Regions from separate parts of the Homo sapiens genome. Here region 2 is linked to region 1. Evidence: promoter capture Hi-C in 16 types of primary human blood cells and fetal thymus (Javierre and others, 2016). All regions are on one chromosome and are shown on one strand. Each heading gives the region's core, a stretch centred on a gene start or on the middle of the fragment in contact. The rest is flanking DNA. Distances are from core to core; before and after follow the strand shown.

Evidence for each region. Contacts are between HindIII fragments. The CHiCAGO score rates a contact against its expected background, and 5 or more counts as called.
Region 2: a fragment that was not itself captured here is called in contact with the fragment with the promoter of SLC19A2 in region 1 in 4 of 17 cell types (fetal thymus, megakaryocytes, M2 macrophages and 1 more); the score reaches 8.9 in fetal thymus.

What each region holds. Positions count from the first base shown.
Region 1 is chr1:169,482,717-169,489,479 of GRCh38, forward strand. SLC19A2 (solute carrier family 19 member 2) reads right to left here and starts at 3,228. Exons shown (of 6, transcript NM_006996.3): 1 at 2,847-3,228. The coding sequence starts at 3,050. RefSeq lists enhancers at 2,633-2,692, 3,235-3,529, 3,333-3,582, 3,365-4,285, 3,593-3,662 and a silencer at 2,873-3,052. The HindIII fragment of the contact is 10,248 bases long and covers 927-6,763 here.
Region 2 is chr1:168,598,627-168,605,597 of GRCh38, forward strand. No RefSeq gene overlaps it. Among named protein-coding and RNA genes, the nearest start is that of XCL1, 26 kb to the left of the region's middle. The HindIII fragment of the contact is 3,058 bases long and covers 218-3,275 here.

The DNA.
Region 1 (6,763 bases), core at 1,978-4,477:
TATTCCAAGAAGAGAATAAGTCTTTGAGTACATGTCAACAGATGAGACTGTGGATATGCTGGACTTAAGACTATTAGATTAATATGAATGGAGCTTGGTTATGTGGAAGTGGTAAGGGGAAGAAGGTTTGTAGTAGGATATAAGGCTGTCAAGGAGGTAAAAACCAAACTTCGTGAGGCTCTGAATATCAGGCAAAATAGGTGGAATGTTTAAAAAAATCTAAGAAAGGTAGTAAATGTCTGTCAAAACACATGCTACAATGATGAAAGGATAAAAAAGTTTTTAGAGATAAAGATCTGTTTTACTGAAAGTCTGGCCTTCAACTATTAACATACAGTCAAATTTTAGCCTGCTTAAAACTTACACACTGGTATCTGTTTTAAAATTAATGCTTTTCCTGAAATCTAAGAAAAAAACTTTTGAGAGTAGACAGAAGAAATCTTTTTCTCCTCTCCTTTTGTTTTAGGATTTAGTTAACAATAGCTCTATTCAAACCAACTTGGCCCTTCTGCAGTCTTCTAAGAGCAAATACAAACTTTAATACAAATGTCGCTGAATATGACTTAGCATTAGCTTTGCTTAAAAATCATGTAATTTTTTTTATTTAACTGTCCATGGCAAAAAACAAGCATTCAGTAAGTAATGAATAAGTTGTTCTATTTATTTCAATTATTAGTTATACAAAAAAACGTAGGGTTTGCCACAAGGTAAGCAGAGGAGAATCAGCCATGATTTGGTGGTCCTCTGAGAAGACACCCCTTCCCCAGACTACTAGATTTCTCTTCAAATCCCACGCTTTTCCTCAACTAATTTGCAATAAGAGAAGTACACTTATGTTTTTTGTTACACAATCAGCAAATAGTTACTACGCCTGGCAACTCTGCTTTATTTCTGTGCCCCCTGAACACACTTCACTCACCTTGAAAAGCTTTCTGATAGGACAGAGCACATGATCTTGGTAGCACGTCACACAGCAACCTTCTACCCAGAGCACATGACAAAACAGATCAGCTTTCAAATATCAACACTGGGAACATGTTTCTCTCCCTGTGTTTCACTATCCGGAAAGGCGCACAAACTGTGCAGATCACATGGCAGTTCACATGAAACTTTAATGGTCAGCTGTTCACAGCAGTATCAATTCTGCCTCAGTGGCTACACCTCAGATTCAGTGGTTGTTTTGGGTCTCCAGAATCATACTTTCTCATATCAGTGCAGTAATTTTCTTGTAAAATCATTCTGTCATGAAATTTGGCTGTTTTGACATTATTGCTTTAAATCAGTATTAAAACTCAAATAGGTTATGAATAACTGTTACGGTCGCTTATGTAATGATCCACAAGACTGAGAAACGGCCCAGCCACTCCATCCCACAACTGGCAGGTCAATAGGGTAATTTAAGGCCAGGCAAAAAGTCAGTGATACTTGCTAGAAGTGAACAAATGTCAGACTCTCAAGTGAAACCCTCAATACGTAAGTCAATACTGATTCTTAATTCTCTCTCAAGTGCCCTTGAAAATGACGGAGCATTGCAACAAACAAACTGCAAACAACAAACTATGAGTAACTATATCTCGCCAGTGTGCAAATGATTCCGGTAGTGCCATCTCTTGTTCTGACCTGTTATGCAGGGTTACTGAGTGGCTACTCAAAAGAAGTGACTGACTACTACCCACATAGAGAAGAGTAAGGTTTAAATGGGAGGAGTATTTTACAGCACCTGGGGCAAGGAGGCAGGGTGGAAGGAACAGGTGTAGGAAAAAAGAAAAAGCTCTCAAGTGGCCCCTTGACTGATAGTAGGAAAAAGAACATGAGACCTCAGCTTTCACCCTTTGTTGTATTCAAGGAAGAGGGTGTTGAATCGGCTTTATTTCGGTTTTGTGGAAGTACTTTGGGTTTAATTTCTTTCTCAGTTTATATATTGTCTTTCTTCTGCAAAAATCAAGTGCTGGTTTTGACCATGCACTTAAATAGGTCAGCACATTTCTAAAGTACACTATGCGCTTCTGAAGTACTTTATTTGTAAGCCCTCATCTAGGGAAAAAATCAATCAGCAAGAAACTCTTGATGATGGACTACGTGCTCTCAATTACCCTGAACATCACAGAAGGCCTTCAAAGACATCACCTTGTATCTGAGAAGCAAAACTAACATCTGTGAAGCAACAATTCGCAATACAAGAAACACTATAATTAAAAGTCAATTATGTTTCACCATCTGCCTTTATCCCTGGAGGTTGGTCTTAAGGTAGAGAGGGGCAGGATATCCTTGGACACAACCTCACCCAATTAAAAATCAAGACAAATTAAGATGTTCTGTACTTCTGTCCTGTCCTTACTTGATTAAGCCCACCCATTCTGCCAAATGCAAACAAAGTAAGGTATGGACAGGAAGCAGGTGAAGGAGGTAGAGGGAAGATCCTTTCAGAAAAGCAGTGGTTGCCTACTTTCAGTCAATGAATATTTACTAAGCCGTGTCCAAAGTACACTTTGCTGTTTTCACTTCTTTGTCAAAATATTGCCCCCTCGCCCCCAGCAGGAACTGCTGGACCAGTCTGGGCAGTCACGCTAAGCCACATTACAACACGATCAGCATACTGCCTGACGCACAAGGCACGGGGCCTCTGGACGCGTGTTCTGAGCCCTTCGCAGGAGACTCGTCCTACAGAGCCGAAGAAAACAGAAAATCATGAACACAAAGAAGAGCACGAAGCCGACCTCCAACTGGCAAAATCAGAAATCTCTGCCGAGAATGGCTCGAGCGCTTTTCTCGGTCCTCTCTTCCTCCGCTGCCCACCCGCAGGCCGGTCGCCCGCCCTTCCCGCGCCCCGCGTCCGCCGCGCGTACCTCCCTCTCGGTCAGGTTCTTGTCCGGCCCCAGCAGGTACGGGGTCAGGAAGGGCTCGGACGGCCTGAGGCTGGCGAAGAAGCCGTAGGCGCAGAGCAGCGCGGTCGGCAAGAACCAGCATTCGCGACGGACCCGAGCGGTCCGCAGGAGCACAGTGGCCGCCGCCGCCGCCGCCCGCCGAGACACCGGGCCGGGCACATCCATCCGGGGCGCGAGGGGAGGGGACCCGGCCCGGCCCCTTCCTTCTCCTCCTCCGCCAACTGGAGTGAGGGTCAGGCACTTGTAACCGCGAGTGACGCCTTCTCCCTGTAAGGCCAGGACGTTCTGGACTCGCCGCCGCCTCCGGCTACAGAACCCCCAGCTTTACCCTACAGACGCCTCTAGGGTCGCTGCCTGATCGCCCAGTTTAAGGGAGACCCGTCCTAAGGCCCACCCTCTGCCACCGCCTCCACTCCGGGAACCAATCACAGCGGACGCCGGGAATACTTGCCTGCTCTTCCATTGGTCGTGGGTCACACGACGTGAACTGGGGCGGTGGCAGCACGCCAGGCCTCTGACGTCCCAGGGCTCAAGCGCGGAGGACATGTGGAACTCCACTCCAAAAGCGGCGGCTTGCGGCGGAGCTCTCTCTAGTGAGGCGGCCAGCTGGCGTTCGTGGCACACTTGCTGTCGGCTCCGCTCATCTGTTGGGAATGCGTCCTGTGGGCCTAGTCCTCCGCTGGAAGAAACGCGCTGTTCTCCCCAACCACCGTTTATCATTCTTATTCACCGTCTCCGGAATGTCCATTCAGTTTCCGCTCCTGAGAGACTTAGTGACTGAGGCCAGGCAAAGATTTCACCTTGGGGAGGGGGAACGTTAAACCTTTCCTCCAGCAGCTTTCGTGTTTTAAATTGTATTCATCCGCCATGGAAAGACATCAGAAGCCCAGGATCTAAGAGACAGACTGAAATGAAGAAAGTAGATAATATTGTGAGAATAATGAACAAGCTGGTCACTGAACAGCAGAACCGTAATGGAGTCCCAGTTAAAGGGTTTTAACTTTATTTCGTCACTTTTTGCAAGCATGATACAAAGAAAACAAACACCTAACTACGCTACGGTTTATAGTTAAAAGGAAGGTGGAAGATCCTGAGTCATTACAGCAATCACAAAACATGATGGATTTCTTCATTTAAAAACACAAAAGAGGTCTTGGCATAGTTTTCAAGGGCAAAGCATGACAAGACTCTCCAGTGCTTTCTTTCATCCCCCTCTGTGTGCCTTTTTCTGCCTGACTCACAGCCTGGCTCAATCCTAATCTTTCTACTGCAAAGATGCAGCATTTAAAGCAATTTTTCCTGTGCAGTATTTGTAGAATGACAGATCCTGCCAGAAGCTCTTGGAAACATTTTGGAACTATCTTGCTTTTCTGTATGTTATGATCCATCTAGCACCGTTTTCCTCCTGTGGTAGCAAATGACACTTTTTTCAAGCATCAGCAGCAGAAATGAGTCTACCAGATGGAATAAGATACTGGTAAAGGGAAAGATTTGTTTCTAAGACTGCACAAATGAATGCACCCAAATCTGTGAGTTGATTAATCTGTGAAGAAATACAACTGGCAGTATTTACATATCTCAATGAGTCTCAAAGTGTGGTCGAGGAAGCCCTGGGGGTCCTTGGGACCCTTTCAGAGGTTCCACGAGCTCAAATCTATTTTCATAACCATGCTAAGTCTTTATTTCCTTTTCCACTCCAGAGGCTATATAATGTCTGATGACATCATCGCTTTATAGGATGAGAGAATACGTGCTTGTATATTCTTGTGTTTGTAAGACTTTCCAGGTTTAATTTATTACCATATGGCAATTTTCAATAAGTATAACCCACAAAACCCAACAGATTTTTGGGGCACCTCTAACAAGGGTCCTAAGACCAAAATGTTTGAGGACTGCTAATCGATATTATTCAATTGTCTAGTCCCCTAAACTCCAACCCTTCTTATCAGGACTACAGAGAGAAAACAGGTGGTCTTCTTGACAATCGCTTTGTATTTACATTCAGTGCTTTAGTAGAAGAGAAGAAAGAAAGAGAAAGCAAGCCAGAGAGGCCTCGGAAAGAGAAGCCTACTTATTAAAAATAGCTTTCTGGCTGGTCACGGTGGCTCACTCCTGTAATCCCAGCACTTTGGGAGGCCGAGACGGGCGGATCACTTGAGGTCAGGAGTCTCAGACCAGCCAGGCCAACATGGCGAAAACACGTCTCTACTAAAAATGCAAAAATTAGCCGGGCATAGTGGCATGCACGCCTGTAGTCCCAGCTACTTGGGAGGCAGAGGCAGGAGAGCCACTTGAACCCAGGAGGCGGAGGTTGCAGTGAGCGGAGAGCGAGACTCGCGAGTACTCGTCTCAAAAAACAAAACAACAATAACAAAAACAGCTTTCCATCCCTTCCCTGAGGCTTGGGTACCTGAACCACGTTAATCTGTAAATCACTGCTTCTGTAACTTTTCCTTGGTATAAATCACATAGGCAATGAGGTTGGGTATAAACAGTAATTGTCCTTGAATTGGGTAGATGTTTTCTTATTATTTTTGTCTAAGAGGTCATTGCGATAGGCAGAATTCTAAGAATGATCCCCAGTGACGCTTGCCCTTGTATAACCCCCACCCATTTGAGTGTGAGGTGAAACCTATGAATTTGATGAGGCAATACTCCTGTTATTATGTTACGTTTTATGACAGATGTGAGATTTTCCAGGTGGGCCCAATCTAATCACAACAGCCCTTTAAAAGCAGAGATTTTCCGTCTGCTAAGAGCAGAAGAGGAAGTCAGAGAGATTTGAAGGATGAGAAGAATTTGACGTGCTGCTGTTGGAGGGGGCTACATACCAAGAAATGTGGGCATCCTATAGCAACTGAAACTGGCTCCTGGCTGACAGCCAGCAGAGAATCAGGATATCAGTCCCAGAATCATAAGGAACTGAATTCTGCTAAAAACCTAAATGAGCTTGGAAGTGGGATTCTTCCGAGAAGAGCCCAGCCGGGTCACCATCTTAATTTTGGTCTGCGAAACCGTAAGCAGAGAATCCACTCAAGCCCACCTGGATCTACAGAACTGTGAGCTAAGCTGATGTGGTAATATTTTAAAGCCGCTAAATTTTTGTTCATTTGTTGTGCAGCAATAGGAATCTAACACAAAGGTAAATAGAATATATTTTTTAAATCGAGGCAATATTCACATAACATAAAATTAACCATTAATTAAGTGTACAACCCAGTGGCATTACTACATTCATAATATTGTGAAACCATCACTTCTGTCTAATTCCAAGACATTTTCACCACCCTACAGGAAACTGATACCCATTAAGCAGTCACTCCCTGTTCCCTCCTCCCCTTAGTCCCTGGCAAACACTAATATGCTTTCTGCCTATGGATTTGTCTATTCTGGAGGTTACATACAATTTGTGACCTTTTGTGTCTAGCTTCTTTCACTTAGTTTAATGTTTTAAAGATTCATCCACATTGTAGCATGTATCAGTACTTCGTTCCTTTTTATGGCTAAGTAATATGTGTATATACAACATTTTGTTTATCCATCAATTGATAACATTTGGATTATTTTTACTTTTGTCTATTGTGAATAGTGCTGCTATGAACATTTGTATGCAAGTGTGTATTTGAATATTTATTTTTATTTCTTTGGGGTATATACCTAGGAGTAGAATTGTTGTGTCATTTGGTAATTCTGTGTTTATCTAAGAAACTGCCAAACTGTTTTCCACAGGCTGCATGATTTCACATTCTCATAAGTAATGTACAAAGGTTCCAATTTGTCCACATCCTTGCCAACACTTATTTTCCTTTTTATAGTAGCCATCCTGGTGGGTGTGAAGTGGTATCTCATTGTGGTTTTGATGTACTTCTCTAATGACT
Region 2 (6,971 bases), core at 497-2,996, 890 kb before region 1:
TCTATTTTGCTTTCCCCTCATGCCTCTGTGATTTCTTAAAAATTGAATTGGGATCATATGTAATTTCATACTTTCCTCTAAAAATATTGTGTCATAAAACCAGAGATTTAAGATTCTATTATTAATTTGATTGAAGAAGTAAAAAGACAAAATAAAATTGTATTACAGCTAATATAAAACGTCTCCATTACTGATTTTTCTTTGAAGCAATCCTAGAAGCTTCTTTCAGAGGCTGACCCTTTCCTCATCTACAACTTCATCTACCACTACAAGAAAAAGAAAAAACAATGAAATAAAAAAATGTGAGGTGACATTTTCAATTTCTGTCCTGCCTCAATGTAACGGAAACCCTTTGCCTTCACTTCCCTTGAGTAAGTGGCCAGTTGCTATGATTGGTAGGTTCCATTGTGACCCTGAGATGCTGGGAAAGGGACAAATCATAAATGCTACTCAATAATTCTGATTTTAGAGAGATTTTTATCTCCACCCAGGAGATGCCTGCAAAATGATTCATTGGTGCTTTGAACAGGGTTGGCCAACCCTTATTTCAAGAGAATTGAGAAAAGGGGATTTATGATGACACAGTCTGCCTGTTTTCCAGGCTGATGTTTGCAATTTGTTTTTGAGAGCAGGTCAGTTCTGCTGCTATTTCATTCTCCTGGCAGGCCTTTACCTTCCACATGGCAGGGTCCCTTCATGTAGGAAATTAGCTAACAAACTTGAGATTGACAAGAAAGACAGGCACATAAATTTGTTGTAATAAAGAATGCATTAAGGCAAACTTTCTTCAAAAACAAAAAATACGCACTTATTTTTGACTATGTATGATTATATACCCAATGACAATGGGTTATATGAATAAAGGGCTCATACATGCTGATTTCTAGAATGCCTGCTGTCCCACTATCGTTTTTCATTTTACCCGCTCTAACACCCCCTCTTTCATGCTTAGATTGGGAACAGAAATGTAAAAAGCATGACAGGAAAAATTGTTCATCTGGTTCAGGAGGAGCTGAGGCAAATGGTAAGTTAACAATCTGACAGGTGAAGCTGCTGCTCTTCTGAAATTTACTGTCCAATTTTGCAGCTCAAATTGGATTGGGTAAAGTTGTATCCAGTGCACGTTTACAAAAGGAAAGTATTCAGGCTGATCTTGCTCTGTGACTTGAAGCCTACTGCCCTGCCCTCTCTTGCAAGGTAAACTATGCAGCTAAGTCACATGCATAGCAGTACTGATAATGGACCATGGAGCTAAGGGCCTCTCTTATTCCTTTCACAAGTCAGCACACACAGCTGGTGAATTTGCCTATTTTTGAGATCGTCAGAGAGTCATATATAGCAAATATATATTTCAGTCAACAAGCAAAAGTGTGCAATAAATAAATAAATAAATAAATAAACATAAAAAAAAAGAAACAAGTTTCTTTGTTTTCCAAATCTCTACTTAATGTTATTTTCAAGCCCATTTCACTAAGATTGAACAATGTAGTCTCACTCAATTTGGAGTCTCCTCTTCCTCCTGCCATTCTAGCCCTAGACTTGAGTCTAAGTCTCAGGAGATGTGAGTAAAGCTGACACTTCCTGACAAGAGCTCATCCCGACCTTGGTGCACACAGGTACCCACTGTTCCACACGGGTCATCACTGGGACATCCCTAAGTCATGTCCACATGACTCTTTCCTCTATTTCCAAGCTATGGAGTTATCCTGCTGCTTTTGTGCCCCATTAGGAGTTCCAGAATTTCTGGTAGGGGCTTAAAGCTCTAGCAGAAATTGCTATCCATCTGCATAGTATGTGGTCCTGGCCAGAAGAGCAATCCTCTTGCTCATCTCATTATCCAAGACCTAGTTCATGCCTCACATACTCCACGAGTCCTCTCCTTTTAACTCAGGAGCCCATTTTTCTCTTTTCCCTTTAAGATCCTGTAGCACTGGGCCGGGCTTATGCCTGTAATCCTAGCACTTTGGGAGGCCGAGGTGGGTGGATAGCCTGAGGTCAGGAGTTCAAGACCAGCCTGGCCAACATGGTGAAATGCTTCTCTACTAAAAATACAAAAATTAGCCAGGCCTGGTGGCGGGCGCCTGTAATCCCAGCTACTTGGGAGGCTGAGGCAAGAGAATTGCTTGAACCCGGGAGGCAGAGGTTGCAGTGAGCCAAGATCGTGCCACTTCACTCCAGCCTGGACAAAAGAGCAAAACTCTGTCTCGATAAATAAATAAATAAATAATAAATAAATAAATAATAAATAAATAAAAATAAAAATAAAAAGATCCTGTAGCACTCATCTAGCACTTGTTATGAAGGAACTGTCTTGTTGTTGAGCTTTCCATGAATGCTTGCAGGGCATTTTAGGGATGGGCTTCATCACCTTTACAGTCTAATGAGTATCCATATGCCTTCCTCCTATAAATTAGTACTCCATCTTGAAGCTGAAAAGTCCACATGCTCATGTAGAGAGGCAAAGAAAGGAACCACAGGTAATGGGAGAAGAATGAAGGTTCATGTTATAGGTTATACAGATCATGCATCAACAAGTAAAAAAACATGCCACACATATATTTTATCTTCTGCACTACGTTAATAAGCTCAAAGGCAACGTCTCTGTTTTAACCATCTTTCGTTTATTTCAGCCCAATGACTCATTTGATGGATGATAGCTGTGCTGTATGCTGACCCAATTACAAGTGCAATGAAATCACAAGGAGGAAATTAAAAAATAAAAATTCCCACCAGAACATTTATTCTCAAGATAAATCAGGAAATGGTATCTATGAATATGATTAATGGATAAGCCCAAAGACGATTCCTCTATCATCACTTTATTGGTAACTCACAGCAAGTTTGGTTCAATTCAGTCCAAGTTTGTTGACTTTCTACATATTGCTGCTGTATGAGTCTCTGGTGATACAGAGAAGAGATAGACATGATTGTGGGGTTACAGTGCTTGGAATTTCTTAGCAGGTGGGCATGCTACATAGATATAAATATGAATACAGGTATTCAAGAAACTATTATTTTCTTAAATAAAATATTCATTTTTGAGGACAGTGCCCCAAGAGGTATTTTTGTTGGAGAAAAAAATATATATATATATAAGGTATGGTGCTTTCAGGTGGGCTGGAAGTGGGCTGCAACTTCTCAAGCCAGGAAGCTCATCCAAAAACAAAACAGATGCTGTTTAGGGGTAGTTAACTAAGGAGCAATTTTATGCTAAGGTGCAGTTTTATGCTAAGGAGCAATTTTATGCTGTATACAGACCTTTATTAAAAATCCTAAGCTTTGCTCTTATTTGGGCAGGTCTTGAATTGGGTACACATACATGTGTATAATTATCTAAACCCAGACATTTTCAAAAGCAAAAAGGGGCACTATTAATAATTATGCTGTGACGAAAGAAGGCATAAACCTGAAAGTATGGCTTTCCAAGTCTTGCAGAACTGACTGTCAGAGTTAATGAAAATAATATAAGGGCCAACTAAAACAAACAATGACACCTCTGAAACAAACCTCTCCTGAATGGAATATCACAGCTGCCGTAGAAGTAGTCATTTCCCATTTGTGGTAAGAATGAAGCAGTCTCCCCAGAATAATTCCACAAACATATTTGCTTCCTCCAGAATTCACTGTTTGCAAATTCCCTGACCTGGGGGTTTACTGTTCCCAGATCTGAAGTTATCACAATATTTACTTGGTCTTGGGCTGATAGGGAAAAAACTTTAGAAAGATGATGAATATTAGATACCAACGAAACAGTATTATTTGAGTGTGTTTCTTTGCATGAGGCATTGAATTTGTGAGTGATGCTGAGGTTTGAATGTATATTTATGTAACTTCACTGTAGGCTATTTTAATAGCATTACATGTTATTCCTTTTATAAAATAGTATATAATACTTCTTGTAGATCATTTTAAAAATACAAAAAAATACAGAAGAAAATAGAATCATATGTAAACCCTAGAGAGAGAACATTTTGCTATCTTTCCATTGGTGTATTTCATGTAGTTGAGTTTATACTGTACATAGAGTTTTTTCTTCCCTTTCCATCTACTATTATACTATTTTAATGCAATTATTATGCAGTATTCAATAATGATATCTAATATTTATGGATGCTAATATATATGATATAATTTAAACCATGTGACAGTCCTACAAGGTAGGCATGTTCGTGAACCCATTTTGCAGATGAAGAAACTGGGAAGTTTGGTGAGGGAATTTGTTCAAGGTTTCACTCACTTAAAACAGATCTTGGGATTGAACCAAGTCTAAATCATACCAGAGTTCAGGTCCTTAACCAACAGGCTCTGCTGTATCAGTTAAGTTTTGGTTCTGAAAATGGAAGCCACTCTAAGTTTTTTTCACTATAAAGGAAGCTGACGTAGGGAATAAGGCTTATACAACCTTTATATATGCCTCCCATTGGAAGAAAACAATGATCAGGATGGCTCTAGATCTAGAAACACAAATATTGCAGTGATATCACTACTACTGAGCTTAGCTGCTTGCAGCATCTGGGAGCTGCTGACAAAGCCCCACATCAGCCATTTGCTGATACCCAGACGCGTGCCTAGATCTTTACTGGAAGCAATGGCCCATCTTTTTCTTCTGCTTTGCAAACTTCACAAAGTGCCACCCCAATGATATTCAAACAGGCACTTGAGAAACGTGATTTCCATGCTTTCAGGCCCTGTTTTACAAGGGGAAAGCTTAGAAGGACAGAAAGGATACTGAACATCCACAGATAATATCAGGCTCACAGGTTATGAGACAAAGCATAATTTACCTGATTTTTTCTATCATTATGCATTTAGGTTGTTTCCTAGCTTGTGGCTACACACTTCACTGGCTCATATGCCCACCTGCATATATATTTTAGCCACACACCCAATTTCAGTTCTCCCAGGGAGAACTGAATATGCAGGTGGGCATATGACCCAGGCAGAGCTGAAATTGGAGTGTGTGGTTAAGATATATCCCAGGTGAGCTCACAAATGTTCTGCTCTTCCACTCCTGGCCCCCTGCTGATGCTTACTGTCCAAACAGCCGCTTGAGGGCAGCACCTCCCCACTACTACAGATGCTGGCACCTGGCATGGTGATGCTGGCTTGCCTCCCTAGGCTAGGTCTCCTTATCTTCCCAAAGCTGCAGACCCTCAGGTTGCCAAGGCACATCATCCGTCTGTGCTGAACCCAACCAAGATTCTTCACCAAGTGAAGAATGCTCTGCACTAAGTCTTCTAACTTCTCCCCTGAGTACTAAACAGAGTTTTCAGGCCTCTGTGTCTCATTTATGGAAACAGCTTCTTTAGTGTCTGAGGGTGATTCTCTGTCCCTTGTGGCTAGACTGACCTATGGGCCTGGTCGGAGGCAGATGTCTCATTGTCTGCCATCTACTCCTCTCTATCGCTTGATGCCCAACCTCTGAGAAATTCTTTCCTTGATGAAAATCAACTCATGGGAAAGAAACTCCAGTTAACTGCCAGCTCTGACACTTCACAACACATGCATTTATTGTTTGAACCCTTAGGTTGAGAAACTTTCTGTATAATCTACTGCTACAATGAAAATTTTGGCCATCACTCTTTGTTCACATTCTCTCCTTAGAGAAGGCTGTGATACATATTGGCAAATTTCTTCCCGAAAGATCACACCAATTTATGCTTCCACCATCCAGTGACAGTGCCTGTATTTGTACCCTGGTCACTGCACTCTCCACTGAATGGTATTTTATCAATCTATGGAGACATTATATTTATGTGTATGTGCATGCATATATATATTTATATGTGTGTGCATGTATATGTATATAAGGGTGTGTGTTTCCCTCAGGATGTTCTGCTCACCATATTAAAATAAATCATGCCCAAATTCTCTCTGCTATATTCTTGAGACCCAAAGCACTGAGCCTTCCAAAAATGTGAGGACGGCAACAGCCCCAACATATCTGTTTAGTCCATTGTAACTGTGATCATTGCAGCTGTTGATTGATTGAAAGGTATTCTTCCAGAGGTTGAAGGGGTGTATTGCTAAGGAGTAGGTTTAACTGCAAGTGACCAAAAAGCCAAAATAAGAGTGGCTTAAACTAGATAGGTTTTTTTTTTCTCTGTCCTCTAGGGACAAAATCAGTAGTTAACAAGGCCAAGGCTGGTATGAGATCCCTGGAACCCAGGTTCTTTTCATTTTTAATTCTCAAATTTGCATCCACTTTCCATCCAGCAAGAAGAAGAAAAGGGAAGAAAAAGATGGGTTTCTTCCTTCAAAAGACATTTTCTAGAAGCTGTATGCATAACCCCAAGTATATAGGTAAGTTCAGCTGCAAGAAAGTATGGGAAATTCAGTCTTTATTCTATGTAATTGTTTTCCAGCTAAAAATAAGAGGAGTTAAGTAAAGAACAGATCTAAAGAGACAAACAGAAGTCCCTCACCTGGAGGTATATAAGATATGATGTCTGTTCTTAAATTACCCACAATTTACTTATTTCCTGGAAAGCCTGTGTTCCTCTTTTACATGGTAAACAAAATGTTGTGGATAATGGCCTATTTCTTTCTTCCTTTTAATTATAGTCTGATTTTCCTTTGACACAGATTATAGTTTCAGAGATGCTTCACATTCATTTTGGACTTCAAGTGGCTGAAGTTTCTCATACTTTACTTTCTTTCCTAGCCAGCCTCTCTGTCTGGCCATTAATGAATCTGAGAATAAACACTCAAATGCAGCTGGTAAGTGTGAGCCTGAAGATTTGTTTCATATCTTTTCCTTGACAAAAGAAGGATGAAACTGTACTAAAACACAAGGAAGCAAAGAAACTGAGAAAGAGGGAAATGAAGACAATGAATATAACCTCCATTATTCAGATTAAAAAACCTAGTTTGGCCATTCCAGGGAACTTTAATGGAGATATACATCAGTGGGCTTAGGGCAGTTTACAGAGGCAGGATTTCACCATGGTACTATATGTATCTTGTACATC